2 separate regions of the Homo sapiens genome follow, and region 1 is linked to region 2. The links are contacts of gene promoters, found by promoter capture Hi-C in blood cells and fetal thymus (Javierre and others, 2016). All regions are on one chromosome and are shown on one strand. Each heading gives the region's core, a stretch centred on a gene start or on the middle of the fragment in contact. The rest is flanking DNA. Distances are from core to core; before and after follow the strand shown.

Region 1 (5,788 bases), core at 1,360-3,859, 230 kb before region 2:
ACATTTTGAGGCCATCTGAATAAACCAAAACAACACATCTGTTAATCCAAGAACAGTCTGTTTTCTGTCTTGTTCTATAAAGCAGTGAGAGCACAGTCTACATTTCCTAACCACAATTGTTTAAAATAGGAAAAACAGAAATTAATGGTCAAGTTTTAACAAAGCCTAACAGAAACACTCAGTGGTTTGGAAATTTTAAAACCTTCTTTTAATAATGATTAAGTCAACAAAGAAATCAAAACCTATTGTAGATTATTTAGAAAATAATAGGATACAGTCACAGTTGAATTTAGACGTGAATTCAAAACTTTATTATTGTTAAGGAAAATAAGAAATAACAAGAAAGTATGTTAACTATAGTTTTAAAAATAAAGCAAGTTAGCAGAAATAAGTCCTAACATCAATCTCAATACTCACAAATAATGCGAATGGATTAAAACCCTCTGTAAAAAGATAGAGACATTCAGATTCTTTTTTCTTCTTTTACTGGTTAGTTTTTATCGAGGCAAAATTTGCCTGCAGTGAAATACACAGATCTTAAGTGTAAAATTCAATGAGTTGGTAAATGTGTAAATACATGCTACCAGAAAACCAATAGCCTATTTACATCATCCCAGGCCATTCACATTGAGTCTCCACCTCCCCATAGGCAACCAGAGTTCTGGTTTTTATCACTATGGATTAATTTTACCTCTTCTTTTTTTGATTATTTATTTATTTATTTATTTATTTATTTATTTATTTATTTATTTATTTTGAGACGGAGTCTTGCTCTGTTGCCCAGACCGGGGGAGTGCAATGGCACAGTCGCAGCTTGCTGCAACCCCCATCTCCTGGGTTTGAGCAATCCTCCTGCCTCAGCCTCCTGAGTAGCTGGGATTACAGGCACGTACTACCACACCTGGCTAATTTTTGTATTTTTAGTAGAGACGGGGTTTTACCATGTTGGCCAGGCTGGTCTTGAACTCCTGACCTCAAGTGATCCACCCGCCTCGGCCTCTCAAAATGCTGGGATTACAGGCATGAGCCACTGCACCTGGCCAGTTTTGCCTCTTCTTGCATTTCATTCTCCGTGGAATTAAATACTATGTGCCCTTTGCAATAGGCTTTTCTGTTCAACATAACATTTTAAAGAATGAAGCATGTTGTTACATGTACCAGTAGTTCATTTTTAATTGCTAAGTCAAATTCCATTGTATACATATATCAAAATTCTTCTATTGATGAACATCTGTGTGTTTTCCGGTTTGTCTCTATTTTAAATCCAGCTTTTATGAATAGAAGCATTCCAGCACAAGTCTCTGTGTGCTTTGTGGACCATTCTTTCCCACGCTTTGCCTCTCTCGCCTCTTTTTACCATCATAGCCTGGCTTCCAAATAGCTACTTCTCACAGCTCAGTCTGAGTTAGGTGCCACCCCCTGGTTTCCATCACCCTCTATGCCAGCTCTGTCATCACACCTAATATCTTGAGTGTAGTTATGATAGAGTCATCTGTCTTTCCAGACTACAAACTCCTGGACAGAGGTTGTCCTGTCCTTTATGACTTAGATTCCTGGTAGTGAGCCTAGAGTCTAGCACATAGAGGTTCTCAAAAAAAGAAAAAAAAATCTTAAATGAACAAATAGGTAACTGCACAAATAAAGACAGATGAGCAAAATTAACACTAGCACATTCAGGAAGCAGTGAGGAGACTGGCCTAATAGTAGAATGTAGAAAGGTGGGTAGATTACACCTCTCAGCAGATTTTAATCCATACTGATGACCAACCTAGAAGAGGAATTCAGAGCTTTGAAGACATGCACGATTACAAGGAGCAAGTTCAGTTTCCTTTCGGAGATGCTGAGCATTAAATTAAACTTTCTAATACCTGAAAAGCAGCCTCAACACGATCTGCACACTTCTTTGTGCTCTGCAGCTGACAGGGGATGGGGAGTGGCAAATATCGGCCTTTGGAGCATTAAAGAGGAAGCTATTAAGGCTGCATATTTTTTCAAAAAGAAAGAGTACAAAGAATTACAAGAAACCCCCTAAATTACAAGTGTGGGTTACAGTAATTGCTAAATTACAGAGCTCCAACTTTATTAGATACACACCCCCTCAGATTCTACAGTTTTCAAGGGCTGCCTTGAGCTGACAAAAGCTAGAAAGCTCTGTGGGAAGTGTGGCGGGGAGCTGAGCAGGTTAGCTAATGGGAGCCCCCTTTATGGGCGAGGCCAGGACACAGAAATCTGGACCAGGACCAATGAAGTTTTTGTTTTCTGGTGTTAAATTACCCTGGGGGGCAATACAGCCTGTGCTGGGGTTTGGAAGTAGGACTGGGATGTTAGCATTTTTTTCATATGTGGAAGCAGCAGTGGCCTATGGCCAATTGCTATGGAATCCTGAGAATTCTTTCAGGGTCTTTGAAGTGATTGGGTTCAGGCCCAGAATGCCCTTCATCAGGATAGTATCTGTTATTATTTTTACCATTCCCAGCTGAAAGCTTCAAGAATAAGATCTTTCATCCTCTGAAAGTTACCACCCATCTCTGCACTGTTGCAATATCCTGTTTAACAACACTCACCTTTATACACCATGTTTACATCCTCAAAGCCCTCTGACCTTTCTAATACAGGCACACATTACGTTTTTCATACTGTCCTCTTCTCTCTCAAACACTTACTTAAGGGAAAGACCTGATCCTACTTTCAAAACATTTGAAGTGAGTGGTTAAGTGACTTTAACTGAAGCTTCACTAAAGCCCAGATCCAAGTCAACTGCATATTAGATTGACTCAGTCCCTCACACTAATGGCCCAATAGAAGAAGGGTACATTCTTTTTCCAGGAGACATATACTTACTATAGGCACTACTTTTTAAAAAATATACTACATTTCAGACTAAAAAAATTGCAAGACATGCAAAGAAGCAGGGCAATGAGACTAATAATCAGGGGAAAAATTACCAATAGAAGTAGACCCACAGATGACTGAGTGTTGGAATTATTAGACAAGGACCTTAAATAAACTAAAATAGAGATGTTAAAAGATCTAGTGGGAAAGGTAGACAGCATGTGTGAACAGATGGGAAATTTCAGCACAGAAATGGAAACTATAAAATAACCAAATGGAAATTCTAGAGATGAAAACTGTAATATTAGATACAAAGAGTTTGTTTGATGGGTTTAACAGCAGATTGAACACAGTAGAAGAAAAGATCAATAAAACTGAAAGGATCTTAAAGACTAGTCAATAGAAATTATCCAAACTAAAATTCAAACAGAAAAATAATTAACAAAATAAAAATTTAAAAAAGAACAGAGTGTTGAAGAACTGTGGAAAAATATTAACATACATGAAATTGGAGCACCAGAAAGAGAAGAAAAGGAGCATAAGGCAGAGTAAATATTTGAGGAATAGTTGTTGAGAATTTTCCAAAATCTAAAAAGATCAGCCAATAGATCCAAGAAACTCAATGAATGCATACTGTATTAGTCCATTTTCACACTACTATAAAGAAGTATCTGAGGCAGGGCACGGTGGCTCACACCTGTAATCCCAGCACTTTGGGAGGCCAAGGTGGGTGGATCACGAGGTCAGGAGTTCAAGACCAGACCAACATGGTGAAACCCCATCTCTACTAAAAACTACAAAAATTAGCCAGGCGGGGTGGCATGTGCCTGTAATCCCAGCTACCCAGGAGGCCAAGGCAGGAGAATGCTTGAACCCAGGAGGCGGAGGTTACAGTGAGGTGAGATTGCGCCATTGCACTCCAGCCTGGACAACAGAGTGAGACTCTGTCTCAAAAAAAAAAAAATCTAAGATTGTGTAATTTATAAAGAATATAAAGGGCGTAACTGACACTCAGCACTGGCCCTGCCAACAAGGGTAGGTGCCCCTCCTCTGGGAACCTTCCCCGGTGGCCCCCATGTACCTCTGTCATGGCACTGGCTTCATTGTATTATGATGCTCTGTGTACATGTCTGTCCTCCCCACCCAACCGGCCGCCCACAGGTTCAGAGTCCTGACTTATTTGCCTGCTTTGTTCCTCCAGGGCCCAGCATGGTGCTGCCTCCGTGAATAGGTGCTCCACATTTAAAAATAGATGCTGTGGTTCATGGCCCAGGAGAGAGGTCCCAGTACACAGAGCCAGCCTTGAGCACTTCTTCAGTCTGAGGCAACAGGGAGCCTGCCACCCCCACCCCCACCCCTACTGTGGGCAGTGAAGTGCAGTGGATGCCACTGGACCACAGATCAGACAGTGTTTTACATCCTGACTCAGTCCCTCACCAGCTGTGCACCCTGGCCAAGCTCCTTGACCTCTCTGTACCTCAACTTCACCGTGATGGCACCTGCCCCGTGGGACTATTGTGAACATTCAGGGAGAAGCAGTGCAGGGAAGCCTCGTACTGAGGACATGCTCAGAAAGTTGCTACGTCCCAGGAGGAGGGGTGCCAGCCAGGCCTGGGCAGCAAACAGCCCAGCTTCTCCTTTGCTGTCAGCTCTGCCCTCCACTTGGCTGGTTTTTACTCCTTCTGATTCCAGAGCAGAGGAGCAAGATGAGGCCACAGCAGGGCCTTTTTCTTTATTTCAGTTTCAGGATGTTGTTGATGGTGATGATGGAGAAAATGACGATGATATTGATGGTTGTGGTGATAATCGTGATGATGATGGTGATGGTGATGATAATAATTATGGTGACATTGATGGTGCTAGGTAAGGCAGTAGGTACGTTACATGGATGGTAAGGTAGTAGTAGTGATGATGATGGTAATGGTGGTGATGGTGATGTTCATGGAGATGATGGTGATGGTGGTGATGATGGTGATGATCGTGATGCTAATGATGGTGGTGATGATGATGGTGATGGTGGTGATGATGATGGTGATGATGATGGTTGTGGTGATAATGATGGTGACAGAAATAATGATGGGATGATGGTGGTAATGGTAATCACAGTAGTGATGATACTGATGATGGTGATGGTGATGATGATAATGATGGGATGATGGTGATAATGATGGGATGATGGTAGTGGTGATGGTGATCATAGTAGTGATGATACTGATGAAGTGATGATAATGATAATGATGATAATGAGGGAGATGGTGATGATGGTAATGGTGATGATCATGGTGATGGTGATGATGATAATGGTAATAATAGTGACGGTGATGATGGTAATGGTAATGATGATGATGGTGATGGTGTTGATGATGGTGATGAGATGATAATGATGGTAGTGGTGATGATGGTGATAGTGAAAATGATAATGATGGGATAATGGTGGTGGTGATGGTGATCACAGTAGTAATGATATTGATGATGGTGATGGTGATGATCATGATAGTGATGCTGATAATGATGGTGATGATGGTAATGAAGGGATGATGGTAGTAATGATGGCGATCATAGTAGTGATGATACTGATGATGTGATGATAACAATGATGATGATGATGGAGATGGTGATGATGATGGTCATGGTGATGATGGTAGTGATGGTGATGGTGATAGTGATGATAATGATAGTGAGGGTGATGATGGTAATGTTGATAGTGATTACAGTGATGATGATGATGGTGATGATGATGGTGGCGGTGATGTCAATGGTGATAATGATGGCTCACATCTATGAAACACTCATTGGCTAGACACTATTGTAAGTGCCTCACATGAACTAACTCATTTAATCATAACAATCCTATGAATTGGGTACTGTTGTTACCATTTTATAGATGGAGAAACTGAGGCATGGACCCAGGTTAAGTCACCCATCTGAAGTCACTCAGCTGGTAAGTAGAAGAACC
Region 2 (5,100 bases), core at 18-2,517:
CACACCAACCCACCCACGCTCCTGACAGAGCTGTGCTCCGGGTGCGTAGAGGGCCATCTTGTTCGCAACAACCGGGTGAAAGTTGAAATTCTAAGCTACTGACCCAGAAGGGTATTTTCGGGGAAGTTCTGAGTAATCCTCTTTGAGACAAGGTACTTTATCACTCATTTTGGTTCCTAAATATGGAAAGCCAGAGGAAACCGACAATGGCCCAAAGGCAGGGGGATGGCCCCGATGACTCCTTCACCTCCAACTAAGGCCCATGATTCTGTTCTCCTATCAATAAAAATTAATTCATGGATCCTTGGCAGGTACCTTTCTATCTGAATGAATTAAAGGAGGGACATTAAACAAACGGTTTCTAGATTTAGAAGAGGAGACGCTATTTATAATTTGAGGACTGAGGAGGACAAAGGATCCTGCCTGCCTGGATCCTTTGGAGAAAACCACAAAGGAAAAAAAAAAGGAAGGAAAAGACAAATAATGAAGATCTGGATTTCTCTTAACCTGCCCTTGTGGCCTCGGTGTGCCCATCTGTGAAATGGAACTTCAGAGTGCCAGAGCGGGAGCCTCTTATGAAATGAAAGCTCCTGAACCGGCTCATGGTGAGGCCCAAGTCAGGCCCCCTTCGCCTACTTAAGGCGGGCCCTGCTAGGGTGGAGTGAGGATGTCAGCCGCGGGCGGCGTCCTGAGCGCAAAACGTGAACCCGAGTCGCCAAGTTTGGGCGCTGCTGGACGGTCCCATCTGGAGGCCGTCCCGTGCCCCACTAAGTAGAGGAGAAACCGAAGAGAATCCGAAGAAAGGATGCTGCGGCCTGGACCACCAGCCCTAGAGGCTGAACCCAAGGACACCCCTCCACCTAGCCCCGACCCCATTCACCCACACAGACGCACAGGGACCCAAAGCACCCGGCCGACCTGGAAAGTCAGCGATTCCTGCGAGGGTGCAAGGGGCGAGGAAGAGGGAGCGTCCCCCAGGGCAGCCCCTCCGACACTCGAGCAAGGGCTGGAGACAGCGCAGGGGACGGTCGGCTCAGGTCGAAAGCGGCCCGACAGCGGCCCTGTCCTGGGAGGAACTCGACCTGCAGTGTGCCCGCCGCGGGGACTCGCTCAGCTCCGGGGGCGCCTCGCCACTCCCGGCCGCAGGCACTCAGGTGAGCAGCGCTGGTCCCGGGACACCGACCCCTCCCCACCCCGGGCGCGAAGCCCACCTGAGTAAGACTTCTTCATGGTGCCTCCGTGGCCGCCGCTCCCAGGAAAGTGTGGCGGCGAGGCAGCGGGGCGCGCGCTCCCAGGGCGCTAATCCTGGGCCGGTAGTAGGAAGGCGGGAAGAGGGGGCGGCCCGCCGTCTGGAGTGCACCGACCGGGCCCCGCCCCGGCCCCGCCCCCGCCCCGCCCCTCCCCGGAGATGCGCATAGAACCCCGGCCCAGCCGGCTGTGGTCCCGCCCCTGACCCGCCCCCTCCCCGCCCCGTGAACGTGCGCGCCGAGCCCCACCCCCGCCCACCCCTGCGCTGCGCTGCACCTGGCGGAGCGGGGCTGGCGGGCGCCGGGCCTGGGAGGGGGCGCCCCCGCGCGGCAGCGCAGACCAGACCAGACCAGGCCAGGCCGGGGGTGGGGGCCGCCTGCGTGGCCCGCCGCGCCCGCAGCTCTGCACCCCCAGCTCCCCGCGCTGGCGCCAATGGCTGGTTCCGGGAGTCGCCGCACTTCCCAGTCCCGAGTCCGGGCGGGGCGGGCCCGGCCAGGTGGAAGCGGGCGGAGGTGCGGGCGCTCCGGGCGGCCCCGCCGGGCGAGGCGGCGGCGCCGGGCACCGCGGCGGCGCCGGGCACAGCCGGGGGTCGGAGCCGGGGTGCCGGCTTAGTGGGCCGGGGTAGGGCGGGACAGGACACCTGTCCTGCTACTTTTCTGGTAATCAAAAGGGCAGAGTGCGTCGATTGAGTTGGAGCCTTAGTTTCCTCACCTGTAAATGGGCGCGTTGGACAGATGATCATTTGTTCTCCCTGCGCTGGGCACCGTGCGCAGCTCGGTGTATCGGTGCAGCGGGGCAGACACAGGGAGCCGCCCTTTACAACTCGGGTAACGCAGGCAGTGGTGAGAGGATGCAAAACTTGCACGGAAGAATTCTCTCTACTTGGATATCCTTAAAGTCTCCACGATAAAGCGGTGTTTCCAACGTACAGAGGAAGAAGTGACTAATTATGACTGGAGGGTGGTGTCAGAGTTTTATTGAGGCGAAATCAAAACAGGGTTTTAAGGAATGAGCAGGAATTAGCCAGGCAGCCAAGGTGATGGAAGGCAGCTGTTCCCGAAAGAGGGAAGGGCGTGGCGGAGCCTGGGAGGCCTGAGGTATCACAGCGAGTGTGGAGAGACAGAGGCAGGGCCGGGCCCTTGCACAGCTGCCAATGGAGGCCGTAGAGGACGAGAGGAAGGCGGGAGGCCAGTTGGGAAGCGCTCGCTAGTTCTGGGTAGGGGCGCAGCATTGCCTTCTCCTGCAGCCCTCCCAAAAATGCACAGGAGGCTGAAAGTGTCACTAACAGCCCCGAAAAATCCTCCTCCTCTTCCCCTCTCCTTTACTCTCCTTGGGGGTCCAAGAAGCATTTTCATTTCCTGCCTGAGTGTGGGAAACTTATATGCATGAGAACGGAGGCCTATGTGGCACCGTGGGTTCGTTCCGGCCCACCTGCTTCCTTTCTTGAGTAATCTGTCCAGCCACAGCCCTGCAGAGGGAGCAGCCCAGCCAGAGGAGTTTCCCCTCACCCCAGGTAGAGCTGATTGGACCGGAGTGGACACTGGACTTCAACTGAGTCCACCCCTTTCCTTATCTGGGGGTTAGAGGCTCAGGAGGCCTCGGGAGGGAAGTGCTGTAAGGGAGGGGAGCAGGGAGTATGGACGAATTGTGAACAGCGTCCTGGATTCTGGGATGTCCACACCCTAACCGCAACCCCCACCCACACGCCCACTCACCGCTTGTACCAGCACCAGCAGATTCCGGCTTAGGCCGTGTCCTGACTTGGCCAGCAAGCACCATGATGACACTGCCCCCAGCCTAGCCATGATGACACTGCCACGAGCCTAATGCCTGGGATTCCCAAAGTCCAGCGGTGTCTCAAGAATCTGGGTTATGGGTGCATTGCTGGCTTTGTCCATTTTACTCAGCACAAGTCAGAGGTGCCCTGGAGCACAGTCACCCTGAGGATGCCAGCCCTGGCTGTTCCCTGGCTTTGGGTAGGTGGGTTCCTCTGCGGATGCTCACGCTTCTGCCTGGGGTCACAATTCACAGGAACCTGGGCACCCAGGACCCAAGGACACCTGCGTGGAGTGATGTTGGACACATCACATGGGTGCCTCCTGTGTGATGGTTCCTGGATATCCGAATTTTCCTTCCGATTCCAAGAAATCAGAAAGAAGGACAAGAGAGAGGGAGGGAAGGCTGGGAATGAGGGTTCTACACATTTTTGAGATGCATGAAGCTTAATCTGTCATGAAATTAGAGTTAAAAAAAAAAAAGAAAAATTAAAGAGATGCACGAAGCTTAATTGTTTAAGCCTCAAATTTTGTTTTTATTTATTTATTTTTATTTTTTATTTTTTGAGAGGGAGTTTTGCCCTCGTCGCCGAGGCTGGAGTGCAATGGTGCGATCTCAGCTCACTGCAACCTCTGCCTCCCAGGTTCAAGTGATTCTCCAGCCTCAGCCTCTTGAGTAGCTGAGATTACAGGTGCCCGCCACACCTGGCTAATTTTTTTTTTTTTGTAATTTTTTTCTTTTTTAGTAGAGACAGGGTTTCACCATGTTGGCCAGGCTGGTCTCAAACTCCTAACCTGAGGTGATCCCCCCGCCTCAGCCTCCCAAAGTGCTGGGATTACAGGTGTGAGCCACCGCACCTGGTTTATTTATTTATTTATGAGACAGAGTCTCCCTCTGTCACCCAGGCTAGAGTGCAGTGGCATGATCTCAGCTCACTACAACGTCCACCTCCCGGATTCAAGCAATTCTCTTGCCTCAGCCTCCCAAGTAGCTGGGATTACAGGCACACGCCACCACAACCGGCTAATTTTTGTATTTTTAGTAGAGACGGGGTTTTGCCATGTTGGCCAGCCTGGTCTCCAACTCCTGACCTCAAGGTGATCCACCTGCCTAGGCCTCCCAAAGTGCTGGGATTACAGGTGTGAGCCACTGCGCCTGGCCTATTTTTTTTTTATTTTTTTAATTTAATTTTTATTTTTTGAGATGGAGTTTTGCTCTTGTCACCCAGGTTGGAGTTTAATGGCATGATCTTGGCTCACTGCAACCTCTGCCTCCCACATTCAAGCGATTCTCCTGCCTCAGCCTCCCAAGTAGCTGGGATTACAGGTGCCTGCTGCCACCAGGCCCGATTAATTTTTGTATTTTTAGTAGAGATGGGGTTTCACCACGTTAGCCAGGCTGGTCTCCAACTCCTGACCTCAAGTGATCTGCCTGCCTTGGCCTCCCAAAGTGCTGGGATTACAGGCATGAGCCACCACACCCGGCCTAAGCATCAAGTTTTAATTGTTTTTCACAGACAACTCTCTAAAACATATGACACAATCCCCTGCCTTGGTGAGAAGAGCATAGCAAACATATGACTCTTTCCCTCCTGGCTCAGGACCGTCACGATGGCACCTTGAACGGTTATCAACGCACACGCCGCCATCTTACTCCTTCGCAAATGTCCCCAGGCTACTGTGCTATCCAATTTTTAAAAATTGTCTTTCAAACACTCTGTTCCTCCTCCTCCTCCTCCTCCTAATTGAGTGCTTATGACCAGTTGTGTAATTTCCCCAATTCTCAGTGCCCACTCCTATGAAAGGGGAGGGCAGTACCCAACCCCCAACTCACACAGCTGGTGTGGTGATTAGAAAGCTAATGGGTCTGACGTGCCTCACTGTGCTCTGGTCACTAAAATATGAAACACATGGCATTGGCTTTAGGCGCAGGCAGTGGGCAGAAGCCTGGAGGAAGTTGGCAAGGGCTTGCAGGAAGGTTAAGAGATGATCCTGGCCCAAAAGTGCATGACCCTGCTACTCGGGAAGTTGAGGCAGGAGGATCACTTGAGCCCAGTAGGTCAAGATCACCCTGGGC

Evidence for each region. Contacts are between HindIII fragments. The CHiCAGO score rates a contact against its expected background, and 5 or more counts as called.
Region 1: a fragment that was not itself captured here is called in contact with the fragment with the promoter of SEPTIN9 in region 2 in 2 of 17 cell types (total CD8 T cells and activated CD4 T cells); the score reaches 5.5 in total CD8 T cells.

The regions. Positions count from the first base shown.
Region 1 is chr17:77,508,890-77,514,677 of GRCh38, reverse strand. No RefSeq gene overlaps it. Among named protein-coding and RNA genes, the nearest start is that of MIR4316, 110 kb to the right of the region's middle. The HindIII fragment of the contact is 247 bases long and covers 2,486-2,732 here.
Region 2 is chr17:77,277,666-77,282,765 of GRCh38, reverse strand. SEPTIN9 (septin 9) reads right to left here and starts at 1,267. Exons shown (of 12, transcript NM_001113491.2): 1 at 1,212-1,267. The coding sequence starts at 1,230. SEPTIN9-DT (SEPTIN9 divergent transcript) reads left to right here and starts at 869. Exons shown (of 3, transcript NR_136503.1): 1 at 869-1,154. RefSeq lists a silencer at 773-936 and an enhancer at 2,538-3,185. The HindIII fragment of the contact is 6,769 bases long and covers 1-3,471 here.